Linked DNA regions of Homo sapiens: regions 2 and 3 are each linked to region 1. Evidence: promoter capture Hi-C in 16 types of primary human blood cells and fetal thymus (Javierre and others, 2016). All regions are on one chromosome and are shown on one strand. Each heading gives the region's core, a stretch centred on a gene start or on the middle of the fragment in contact. The rest is flanking DNA. Distances are from core to core; before and after follow the strand shown. Region 1 holds the start of ATP2B3 (ATPase plasma membrane Ca2+ transporting 3). Region 2 has its middle 18 kb from the start of PNMA5. Region 3 has its middle 28 kb from the start of PNMA3.

Region 1 (4,297 bases), core at 780-3,279:
TCAATGGCCGGGGACCACAAGTTCCCAGCCCGTTCCGATGGCGCAGACTTGAGGGGCTGACCTCACCCTGGGACCCTCTGCTGGGTCTCAGCTGTGTCCCACAGGGGCCCAGGCATCCCCAGCCCTCTCCTCGGCATCCCAGTGCCCCTTTAATGAGCCACATGGCTTCGGTTTCCTCATCTGTGAAAAGTGGCGGCGGGGGGTGGGGGTTGGGGATGAAAACAGCCATTCACTCGTGTGGTTGAGGTGAGACTCAGATGGAGCTCAGGAAGTGGGGCTGGTCTTTGATTATTACGATAACCTCTCCCCGCCTCCCTGCCCCACCAGGTTCATAGGAATGTCCCTAGCCATCTGCTCATGAAGGAAGGGGCCTCAATTCAGGGCTGAATCCCTTCTCCTCTTGGGGGCCTCAATGATCCCATCTGAAAAATGGGGACAAAAATCCAGGCCTTGCCTCTCCTGTTCAGTGAGTCTGCAGATTCAGTGAGGTCAAGGTCATGAATATGCCATGCAGAAACCAGGTGCCCACTCTGTGCCAGGCCTGTGCAAATGAAGAGCCAGTCCTTGCCTTAAGATGGTCACTGACTAGTGAGGGGCAATGGCAGGGGGTGAGGGCACAGATCCTAGTGGGCAAAGGAGGGGAGGAGGTGCAGGGGGTGCCTGCCAGACTGGTGCCCAAGTCAGCCAGGGGAAGTCGGCTGACGTTTAGGGTGCCAGTGGAATTCAGGATGGGGGCCAGTTGGGGACAGGCTGGACTTGATCCTTTAGCAGGCAGGGACTCCTTTGAGGTCGGAGGCCCTGGGCTTCATCTTTGAAAGTTATATGACCTCGCCAGGAAATGGCAAGCATCTCGTTGAGGAATTCTGGTCCCTTCCCTGCCCCTTGAGTGAGCGAAGGAGCATTTCCACAGTCTCTCCTAAACCCTCATGGAGCCCTCACCGCGGGCTCTCCAAGACTCCCTCCAGTCCTGACCTGCCCCGGCGCCATGCCCCTGCCCTGCCTCCCACCCCTCCTCAGCCGGCTGGCTGAGCCACCAACCCCCAGAAGGGCCAGCAGAAGGAAGGACACCAGGTCACAGAGAGAGAAGCCCATCGTCTCAGGCTCTGGGAGATGCCGCACCTGCCATTCCAAATTCCAGAATCTTAAAGCCAGAGCTTTCACCCGTGAGAAAACGCAGGCGGCCACAGGAAAAGCTGGCTGGCCAAGGTCACACAGGCGAGGAGGGGGAGACAGCCGTTCCTGGAGGGATGGAGAAGTTACCTAAGTGCGGCCCCGGGCGGCTTCTCGTGGGCACTGCCCATGACCGCGGTGGGGTCTGCTGGGCAGCCGCGTGGGCGTGCGGGGAACGGTGCGGGAAGGCGAGAGGGGAAGGATGATACAGTGTGAGGGCGCGGGGGGGAGGGGGTGCCCGAGGCTCCGGGAAGGTGCGTGCGCACTGGCGGGCTCCCGGCCCAGATCCCGCGCCCCCGGCTGCGCCCACCCTGAGCCCCGGCCCGCAGCCCCCAAGGGCCTTGTTCCTCAGACACGGATGCGCGTGCGCGCGCGATGCGGGGCGCAGGGTGCAGGGTGCGGGGCGCTGCCCGCCGGCCTGGGGCCCCGGGGTGACGCGCGGCCGCAGTGCCGCAAGGACACGCAGGCCCGGCGCGGGGCTCAGGTGCCTCGGGCGGGGACCCGTGTCCCCCTACCTGCCGCCGCACCACCTGCCGGGTCATCCTCCCATCCCCACCCGCGCCTTGTGCCCGCGCCGCGCCCGCGCCCACCCCGGCGGCGCCCGCGCGCCCAGAGCACCACTTACCCGGGCATGGGCACGGCCGCCGCCGCGGCCTCGGCTCCGGCGGGCGCTGTCGCTGCGGGCGGGCGTCAGGCGGGCAACGATCCGCTCCAAGGATGGAAAGGCCTGGGCACGGGGCGGCCTGGCCGGCGGCGCGGGACGCGACCCTCTGCGGCGGGCGAGGGCTGCGGCCGAGTGCTCCCCACGCTCTGCACCGGCGGCGGGCGACGCGGCGCGCTCGGCTCCAACCGCAGCTCTGAGCGCGGAGGGAGGGAGGGGGGAGGGGAGGGAGCTGGGTGAGGAGGAGGGAGGGAGGAGGGAGCGGGCGCGGGGGGCGGTGCGCGGCGCAGGGGCCTCGGGGCTCAGGAGCTACGCGCCCGGTGCGCGCCCTTCTGTCCCCAGGACGCGCGAGGGTGCCCGCCCTTCCTGGCCTGGCATTGCCCCCAAAGGGCACTGGCCGAGTGGGGGTGGGTGGGGATGGAAACTGGGGGACCATGGCACCTGTGAGTGCAGAGAGAGCACCCTGAGCTTGCGACTGAGGCTGCCACTACCTCTCCAGACCCTGCCCTCTAGGTGCGTCTCCCCAACAGTAAAATGGGGCACAGAGCCGGGTGGCTGATGTGTAGCGTGGGGTCCTTGGGTCTTGCCTCAGTGGACTCCAAGGCATTGGTGGTCTCCTGCAAACTCCATTACCTGTTGAGAGTACGGGCGTCCAAATGCGTCTTCCCAGAGGAAGCGGCGCTTACCGGAGATCCTCACCGTCGGTTATCACGGGAACACCACCGTTAGGCAGAACACAGAGACTGCACACAGGTGGGCACCAGAGACAGACACGCAGGGGCACATACATCCCCGGTGTGAGTGGAGACAGACACACAGACAAACCCCAGTGCAGACACCTGTCCACACCCACAAGCACGCGTTCCCACCTACCTGGAAAGAGACCCCCGTGCCTGCCGGTGGACCCCCAGGCTTCCCAGCTCCAGGGGCTGTGGAGGCCTCTGACCCCAGGGCCGGCCTTTGCGAGCATTCTGAGCAGCGAGCAGAGAATGCTCGCTGGGGCACAGGTAGAGGCTCTGGGCGGGAGCCTGAGGCAGGTGCAAGAGGCCTGGACGCAGCCTCAAATTCTTTCTTGCCTTGGACAAAGAGGGCCCTGGACATGCTGTGTGCCAGACCAGAGCTGAATACTGGGGACACAGCAGGGACCACAAAGCAGGGAGTGGCCGTCGGATGGCAAATGTGCTCACGCCGCTGGGGTCGGAGCTATGGAACCCCATTGATGGGGAGCCATGAAAGAGGCTGCTGGCGGCTCAGGGAAGGCCTCTTTGAGGAGGCACCACTGTGCTAGGGACCAAAAGGACAGAAAGCTTCTGCTGCCCCTGAGACCAGGGAACCGTCACAACCCCCACAGACTGCCCCTCCCTTCCACAGGAAGCAGCTGGTGCCGTGGAAAGCTGAGGTTCGCGCACGCACGCACACACACACTCATACACCTGGTCATGTGTGCGCTCACACATGCTTACTCACACCCACTCACATGCACGCACACATACTCACACCTGCTCATATGCATGAACTCATGCTCACTCACCTACTTACACAAACACACACTCACACACTCATGCACACACTCACAATCTCACGCAGACACATCCTCACAGTCATATGTGCTCACTCACCCTCACCCACACAAGCTCGGTGGCCCACACAGTTACACAATGGTTCACACATATTTACATGCTCTCACACCTACACAACTCACACACTTACCCAGTGAGCACACACATGGGCACATACATACACACACACTCACACACAGTTACTCACAGTCACACTCACACACACACTCCCCACTCACACTCTCACACATATTCATTTGCACACTCCCGCAGTCCCCTTCCACTCCAACTCTGAGGCAGCTTTTCCTGAGCCTGGGGCGTGTGCTCCTCCGGGCCCAGAGCCGCCATGGGGACACCCCCTTCTCACACACACACAGCCTGTGACTTCCCATGGCCCCGAATGGGAAAAATCAAGACTGAAGCAAGCCCCAATGATGCTGGAAACTTATCATGAGCTAAGTTCTGGCCATTTCGCCAGAGCCCTGCCATCTTGGAGTCGTTCCTCTTACTAGCCCACATTCCAGATGGGGAAGTGGAGGCCCAGAGGGCACTGGATCCCACCCGGAGCAGGTTGTAAGCTGGACTTTGGCCCCTGGCCGGGAGGCCAGCTGCCCCCATGCCCTCAGGCACCACAGGAGGGCAGAGGAGCTCCTTTCCCCAGCGCATTCAGGCCACGTTCCTTCTTGGCCTCCCACACTGTGGCAGGCTCCCTGGGGTCATGTCCTTCCATCCCAGGCCCAAGGGCCCTGCTCTGGAGTGAGCAAAGGCAGAAGCAGGCTGCTGAGCTGGCCTCCTTTCGTGGCCCCCAGCAGGAGCATCCCTTGGGCAAGGGTTGGGTCCCGGCTGAAGACAAGCACCTCTTAGCAGACATGTGTGGGCAGCTCTGGGAGGGCAGGTGTGGGGCTGG
Region 2 (4,297 bases), core at 1,316-3,815, 510 kb after region 1:
TGGGAAAAAACCTCCTCTGTTTTCTTTGTAAAACCCAAGGAATTGAAAGCAGATAGATCCCTTTCCAAATCTAAGGTTCTGTTCTGTTTTGCATTGCATTATCTGACGTTTTTTACTTTTTGAGGTATCAGAAATTACTTCACATTATAAGAGAGCTTTGCTGTGTAATAACAAGGTAGGAAATATACTTTTATGGATGGCTAATGGCAGTCATGAGGCAATATGTGGCTCTTTGCATGTTTGGATTAGAAAAGCATGCTCCTGGCCACCTGGAAGGTATGGAGATATTCCCCCACTGAGAGATAAGGGTCCCATGGGAGATGGGCTAATTCCCTCTTTTTGGGATCCAGGATCTGGTATAAAAATGGGACCTTAATTTTGGGGAATCTGTTTTTGCCTTTCAGCTGTGCCTGCTTAATAGGCCCTACAAACTGCATCTTTTAAAAGAAACTTAAGAAACTGGCAAATGAAAAATCTTAACAACTACTGGTTATTCTTCTGTCTGTGTATTTATATGTGTTGTGTGTGTGATGTTTATGAAAGAGCTTTGATTAATTGGCTTAAAAATAGTGCTTAAATATTTTATCAGAAAAATAAAAAGCATAATGCCTTTTAGTTCACATTACTTTAGTAATTTTGGGGAAATAAAAACAGTTTTACAAGCAAGGTGTGTAAGGAAAGTGAAATGTGTTTTTGGTAAAAGATTAAAAGAAGGCATGAGAATGTGGATTTTTTTTAGAAGGTTAAAGGATTGTTTTAAGTTAGGTAGGAAAAAGCTGAAGATTTGAGCAAGTTGTGGAAGGTTTGTGAAAAATTAATCTTGTAAAAGAAATTCTGTGTGTGAACATATTGGCTAACATTAAAGGGTATTCAGTTTTTCTGTAAATTGAACATTGGAATAAAAGCACAACAGGCTTTTCATAAAGCACTCATCTGCTCTTTAACAAAAATTTTTCAAGGGTTTATAAGAATCTTACTTTATGATGAGACTTTAAAATTGGATAGATTTGTGTATAAGGTTTTATTAAGAATTGGGTTTAACATCAATAGTGCATTAATGGAAAGGGTGAAATGTGGCTTTCTCTCTTGAACAGGATTTTCATGTTTTATTAAAAAATAATGAAAGATTTTTGTTTGCCTTTTAAATAAACTACAGGAAAAGAGGGGAAAGAAAAGAGACATTGTTTGGAAAGCTAGGTCTTCCCTCTTCATGAGTAAGGGGTTTTGCCTTTTAAAAATTTTTTAAGTTATTATTTTGGCAAAATGAATGACTTATGGTCACCTGGGATTCTATTTTGTGATATCTAGTGTTTTAAACCTTTGATATTTGACAAGCTTCCCAAAATCAAATTATAAAATATGTCTTTTTCTGACCTAATTAATCTTTTAGATATTAGGTCACCTAAAGTCCAAAAGTGACTTTTGGCTTATTTGGTATAAAAGTCATACAGGAAGCATTGTCAAATATGAAATGGTGTTTGGCCTTCTTTGGGCTGTGTTTGTATAAATATGTTATTGGCATGTATTCCAAAATTATGGAAGCTCCTATAATTCTGATATAACTTAGTGTGTGTTATCAATAGTTATAATTGCTATGTAAAATTGTTGTATACCACAGAGGTAATCAAAATTTTTTTGTCCATTGTGGCTTTAATAGTGGCTGTCCTAAAATTTTGTCATCCACAGACAATTGTTATCTTGTTTTAATACTCTTCAGAAGGTGGTTTTATAATCACCTATAGAACCCTAACAAGTGTTATTAAATGCAGGTTTTCTGATAACTTTGGAGAGTGTGACATTCAGATAGAGGAAAAACTTTCAGGACTCATGGACAGCTGAAATGTTCATGAATATCAAACAGGACAGGAGCTAACTGCATGTATTGCGCTAATAGAAGTTTGAAGTAATCTTGGCTGTTTGCTTAAAATGTTGCTGATCCTTTGTTTTGTTTTCCAGAGTCAAGGAAACTTTTGAGCTATTTAAAGCTTTTAACAATTAAGTAAAGTATACACCTATGAACACAATTTGGAGCATATGGGGAAACTGGTTATTTTACCAAGGCTTTGACGAGAATAGGGTGCTTTCCTTTAAGGAAAAAAACTTGACTTATAGAGCCAATAAAAGCCCCTTGGGAAAACTGGCCTCATAGGTTGTCTATACAGTCCCTGTACAGGGTTCCTGACCCGTGGTAAGTAAAGCATGTCACTTTCTCACAGGCCCAGGTGCCCCCAGTTATCTTAGGACCTCAAGAGAAGAGGAATTTACCCAACTCGTAAGTATTTGAGAGTATAAACCCACAGCTGGGCTTGGCTTTAAAAAAAAAAAAAGTCTTCAGGGCTCACGCCTATAATCCCAGCACTTTTGGAGGCAGAGGCGGAGGCGGGTAGATCACGGGGTCAGGAGTTCAAGACCTGCCTGGCCAAGATGGTGAAACCCCATCTCTACTAAAAATACAAAAAATTAGCTGGGTGTGGTGGCAGGCACCTGTAATCCCAGCTACTTGGGAGGCTGAGGCGGAGAATTGCTTGAACCCGGGAGGGGAGGTTGCAGTGAGCCAAGATCATGCCACTGCACTCCAGCCTGGGTGACAGAGCGAGACTCTGTCAAAAAAAAATGGAAAAAAAGTCTTATCTGAGATTCTTTCGATGGAACAGAGTTCCATCAAAGCTAATTTAAAAATAATTATTCTTGCTGCACTTTATATGAATGATCAGGCCAAGTATAAGAAAGTAAATTGGTCTTACCATGATTTGTTTTTAATAAAAATGGGAGACTGGAGATAGAAAAACTCTTTCGAACACTGTGGTACACATGTTAATAGATTCTAGTCTCATCAGTTGTTCTGGGACTTTTTTCTTCAATTTAGACTAACCCTGCTTATTCCTGTGAACAAACCAGTGACCTCTGACTGCTATTCAGAAGAAAGAAGAGGGATGGGTGATGTAAAAATCTGGATCTGTATTCTAATTCTGGGCACATATTGGGATGGGCTAGCAACCCCATATCAACTTGGTTCCAACAATTGTCCAGTTCATGGAAAGCCTTTTCTAATTTAATTTACTAGAGATAATTTTACTTATTTTGCTTTCCTGTTGTTGAATATATTGCTGTTATAGTCTTTGTGTAGGAATGCAGGACAAGCTTACTGAATGTTTCCCTAAACTGAACACTTATTAATCTTCCAGATATCACCTTTTGTTGAAACTCAAGAGTTATGAATGGCCTTCAACATACCGACACTTTCTAACCGAACTCCTCTCTACCCTGAATGCAAGAGACCCAGTAGTTAGGTAGGAATATCATCTCCCCTGTTCAGCATAAAGAAGTTACAGAAGATGGATTTTCATCCCTTTGCAACCCTTAGGATTAAGGGTTCTCTTGTAAAAGGGAGCAGGGAAATGTCAGAGGCATTTGAACCAAAACAACTCCATCTTGAATAGGGGCTGGGTAAAATGAGGCTGAGACCTACTGGGCTGCATTCCCAGATGGTTAAACATTCTAAGTCACAGGATGAGACAGGAGGTCAGCACAAGATACAGGTCATAAAGACCTTGCTGATAAAACAGGTTGCAGTAAAGAAGCTGGCCCAAACCCACCAAAAACAAGATGGTGATGAGAGTGACTTCTGGTCATTCTCACTGCTACACTCCTGCCAGCGCCATGACAGTTTACAAATGCCATGGTGATGTCAGGAAGTTACCCTATATGGTCTAAAAAGGGGAGGCATGAATAATTCACTCCTTGTTTAGCATATCATCAAGAAATAACCATAAAAATGAGCAACCAGCAGCCCTTGGGGCTGCTCTGTCTGTGGAGTAGCAATTCTTTTATTCTTTTACTTTTCTAATAAACTTGCCTTCATTTAAAAAGAAAAGAAGAAATTAAACCATTGGTTAATTATGGTGAAATCAATAGGCTCAGAACAGTTCATAACCTTAGAGTATAGAGCAAATCCCACACCCCTCCACAAAGGAGTTAGAAAGAAGCAGGGAACTGAAGATGTAGGGTCCAGGATTGCTCCGTTTGCTTGATAGGTCACTCAAGAGGGCCTTTCATTATATTCTATGGTAAAATTGGGAACAGCTGTAAAGTTAGTTACAGGCATGATTAAAGGATCAGTATGGTCATGAAACCAAAACAGTTTGGGATGACATACACGACAATCAGTTAAATTTACTGAAGAGGCCAGAGATTAGGAAAATCTAACCATAGAGTTATGTCTCTATGTGAAACAGAAATCATGTTTACTGGTTCCTAGAGGGGCAATTAGAATGATATAGCAAGTAACATATGCTAT
Region 3 (4,297 bases), core at 710-3,209, 490 kb after region 1:
CCACGCCAGGGTCAGCCTGGCTGGCGTCTTCCTGGGCTGAGGAGGCCTGAGCAGCATCTCCACAGGCAGGAGCTGCCTGGGCGGCAACTGGATCTTCACTTTCCACTGTGGCCACTGGCCAGGCCACAACATGCTGGCTCCTCACTGGGGAGGCCGCCCACGCCTCCATCTCCTGGATGAGCTGAAGCAGCCCCAGGAAGTAGGGCGGCCTCCTCTCCAGTGCATCCCCCTCAGGGTATTCTGGAGTGCTTCGCCAGGGCAGGCCTGAGGCTGCACCTACCGCAGTCACAGGTGGTTGGCCAGGGCCGGGCAGACGGCCCCCTTCTCCAGGGCCATCTGCAGCAGGCCTTCCAGGCATACCAGGAAGGCAAAGGGCCCCTGCGTTCAGGTCAGGAACTTCAGCCTGGAAGTCATTCGAGGGTCCCGGTTTCCAAACGCCTGCCCCAGCACCGCTGCCCAGCAGTCCAGCAGCGCCTGGCAGTCCAGTGCCGCCAAGTTGGGATCTTCCTCTAGGAGGCCGCTCACAACGTCCAGGGCTGGGCCACCCAAGCTCTCCAGCAGCCATCTCTTCCTCTCCCTTTCCGACGCATGGTACCACAGCTGCAGCATATCCTTGGCGTGCTCCATCCAGCTCTCAAAGGACTCTTCCTCGCAGCCTGGCTGCTCCCTCCCTGAAAAGGGTCTCAGTTCCTGGTAGGCCCTGTTTTCCAGCACAGCCTGCAGGGTGCAGCGCCGAGGCTGGACCCAGGCTCTTGTTACATTTGTCCCTCTTGCCTCACCCACAGCTCCTGCCTCACCCGCAGCTCCTGCCTCACCCACAGCTCCTGCCTCACCCACAGCTCCTGCCTCACCTGCAGGTCCTGTATCACCTGCGGCTCCCTCATCTGACTCTCTTGCCTCTTCTGCAACTCTCAACTCATCTCCAGCTCCTCCCTCACCTGCACCTTCTGCCTCACTTGCAGATCCTCCCTCACCTGTGGCTTCTGCCTCACCCTTACCCACAGCTCCTGTTTCACCTATGGCTCCTGCTGCACCTGCAGCTCCTCCATCACCTGCCTCTTCTTCCTCACCTGCAGCTCCTGCCTCACCTGCAGATCTTTCCTCATTCACACCTCCTGCCTCACCTACAGATCCTGCCTCACCTGCAGCTCCTGCCTCACCTGCACCTCTGGCCACTGCTTGCCCCTGGGGCTATGCAGGGAAACTGGGTATATCCTGAAACTCAGCATCAAGGGCCTGGGGCAGGGAGATCACTTTCCAGGGTCCCCCTTTGCCTGCTATTTGGCGGGGAATCAAGCTTTGGTTTAAACCCTCAGCGAATTCCACCAAGGCTGCCCTGGCCCCGAGCTCCTTTCTGAAGACCTTGATGAGCACTCGGTACCTGCCCAGGGGCGACAGGGCAGCCCGCACGGCCTCCTGGAACTCATGTTCCTCGCAGTCGTCAGGGATATCCAGGATGAGCAGAGAGCGCTCTGCGTTCACACCCATCCTCCTGCACCAGTCCCGAAGCATCGCCAGAGCCATCGCAGAGGACTTGAGGGAGGGAGCCTGATCAGACAGGAATGTGTGCTGACTGTTGCAGTCTCTGACGCAGCCTGTGAGTGCAAAGGGGAGAGAGGGACGTTGCTGCCAGTCAGCCCACCCCCACCGCACAGCCAGAGACCAGCCACTCCCAAATGCAGGGCCTGAAGCATCTCCCCTGCCCAGTGTCACAGCCCATGCTCCCCCACCCCTACTGCTGCAGCTCAGAGTCCTTCACTGCACCCCCCACCTCCACAGCAGGAAGCGCCTCTTTCACCTGGTGAACAGCCCCTGATCACAAAACTTACAGCTGGAGCCCCTCCAACCATCATGTGCAACCCTGCAGCTGGATGTGCCCACCTCCTCTTTTTCCCAGCACTTGACCAGGAGCCCTCTCCCTAATGCCATCCTCCCTGCAACCTGGCAACCCCCTCCCACGCCTCCCACATCAGCAGCCAGGAGTCCCCTTCCCCCACAGCCAGAGCCCCTCTCTCTCCCATCGTCCCCTTCTGTAGCCAGAGGTGCCCTGCAGCCAGGAGCTCACCCCACCCAGACTCCTGCAGCAAGGAGACCCTCCTCCCCTCTCCTCAGGCTCCAGACCAGGACCCGCTGTCGCACCTACTGCCTGGGGGGACAGCGATCTGGCTCCTGCCCAGTGTGCCCTCAGCCACTCTGGGGTCCCGCTGGTGCCTGCTCACTGTCTGCAGACACTGCAACCACCCACGGGGAAATGCCACCTTCAGGCTGTGGAGCCCACTCTGGAGGCCGCCTTGAGGCCCTGGAATGGGAAGGTGGAAGATCGCGCCCCAGCAGCCCATCTGGGACTGCACAGGGCAGGGATATCTCAGGCCAGCTGTACTAAGGGCACGTGGGCTTCCAACTTCTCCCAGAAGCCTCAGATAGATGAGGGAGAAAAATCTCAGAGTCTCTGTGGGAGGCAAATAGCTAAACAGGGGGAGGCATCCGTGTTGCCCTGGGATCGGGACCTGCGCGGTAAGGGCTTGATGTGCCTCCGGGGGCAACAGGCCCAACCATCAAAATGGCCTAGTGGAAGTGTTGAGAGAGAAAGGGGATTGGAAACTGGCAGAGAGGAAGCTTATGCTTAGGGGCAGCGTCTGGAAGCTGGGAGTTGGTGGACAGCCAGGTACTAGGACTCCAGACTAGGTCCCCCAAATCACTACATTCACAGGCCTACCTCCTCATTGCAGGAATCTCCACAACAGGAAGAGGCTAGCTGTTCCTGACTCAAGAGCCTCATCATAGTTCTTAGGCTACAAAGCCAGCCTTCACCACCTAGGAAGCCATTGCATTGGAAAGAGTGTGTACGGCCTTTGGAAGCAGGCAAAGCTGGCTTCACCTAGCAGCTGGGTGGCTTTGCACAAACCACTGAACATCTCTGTTTCTCATCTGTAAATGAGCAATAAGAACATTTTTCTTGCAGGGGAGTCATGGAGCTTTACCTTCTATTAGACACACGGTAAGCCTTCAGTAAATAACCACAAGGGCACAGGAATGAAAAAGGGTGGTGTGGCCAAGAATGGTGTGGGTATTGGAGGCTGGTTGTGGCAGCCAGCTCAGTGGTCCCAGGTCTGAGCTCTGAGAAAAAGCAGGATGTGAGTGGGAACATTGGAACCATTTTCCTGAGGAATGCAAGGATTGGCCAATGTGAAAATATGACTTTCTGTTTCTGCAGGCCTTGGTCAAGAGAGGCATTTGGGAAACTCAGCCAGTCTCTGCCATGTCTAGGACTGGCTACCCATCTGGCCAGCAGCTTTGGGAGTTTCCTGAGAGTGAACCCTTGATGCATCCTTGAGCACTGCTGCACAGGCACCACTGCCCTCACGTCACTTCCCCAGCCACCAATAGGAACAACAGGAAGAGTAAGAGAGTAAGGGTACGAGGGGCAGAAGCAGACCACATGTGACAAAGTGTAGGTGAGGGACTTGCCTGTGAACTCTTGTAGTAGATTTATATATATATACACACATATATACATATACATATACACACATATACACATATATATACACATATATATACACACATATATATACATATACATATACACACATATACACATATATATACACATATATATACACACATATATATACATATACATATACACACATATACACATATATATACACATATATATACACACACATATATATACGTATATAAAAATATATATATAAATCTCTCTCTATATATATATAGAGAGAGAGAGAGAGAGTAGAGAGAGAGAGGGAGAGAGGGAGGGAGAGAGAGAGAGAGAGATGGAGTCTTGCTCTGTCACCCAGGCTGGAGTGCAGTGGCGTGATTTCGGCTCACTGCAAGCTCCGCCTCCTGGGTTCAAGCGATTCTCCTGCCTCAGCCTCCCGAGTAGCTGGGACTACAGGTGCGTGCCACCACGCCTAGCTAATTTTTTGCATTTTTAGTAGAGACAGGTTTTCACCGTGTTAGTCAGGATGGTCTCGATCTCCTGACCTCGTGATTGGCCTGCCTTGACCTCCCAAAGTGTTGGGATTGATTTTTTAATGTCCCTGGTTCTCCATTTGTAATATGATTTCAAAACTCCTTCTATCACAAGTTAGAGTCAGTTTCCCTACCTCTGGAATCTAGGCTGGCCTAGAGACTTGCTTTGGAAAATGGAACATGAGAGAAGTGATGACATGCCAATTACTGTCGATCATGGGTCACATTTCCCTGTTACTTCACATGTTCTGGGTTTTTAAAAGTTGCATGTCAGGCATTGTGCTTCAAAGAACCATAG

The links. Contacts are between HindIII fragments. The CHiCAGO score rates a contact against its expected background, and 5 or more counts as called.
Region 2: a contact is called between a fragment that was not itself captured here and the fragment with the promoter of ATP2B3 in region 1, in 4 of 17 cell types (M1 macrophages, total B cells, M0 macrophages and 1 more). The highest score is 8.5, in M1 macrophages.
Region 3: a fragment that was not itself captured here is called in contact with the fragment with the promoter of ATP2B3 in region 1 in 1 of 17 cell types (naive CD4 T cells); the score reaches 5.3 in naive CD4 T cells.

The regions. Positions count from the first base shown.
Region 1 is chrX:153,515,374-153,519,670 of GRCh38, reverse strand. ATP2B3 (ATPase plasma membrane Ca2+ transporting 3) reads right to left here and starts at 2,029. Exons shown (of 22, transcript NM_001001344.3): 1 at 1,796-2,029; 2 at 1,120-1,239. The HindIII fragment of the contact is 7,787 bases long and covers 1-3,140 here.
Region 2 is chrX:153,009,774-153,014,070 of GRCh38, reverse strand. No RefSeq gene overlaps it. Among named protein-coding and RNA genes, the nearest start is that of PNMA5, 18 kb to the right of the region's middle. The HindIII fragment of the contact is 1,156 bases long and covers 1,988-3,143 here.
Region 3 is chrX:153,026,012-153,030,308 of GRCh38, reverse strand. It overlaps the pseudogene LOC112268308. Among named protein-coding and RNA genes, the nearest start is that of PNMA3, 28 kb to the left of the region's middle. The HindIII fragment of the contact is 1,319 bases long and covers 1,300-2,618 here.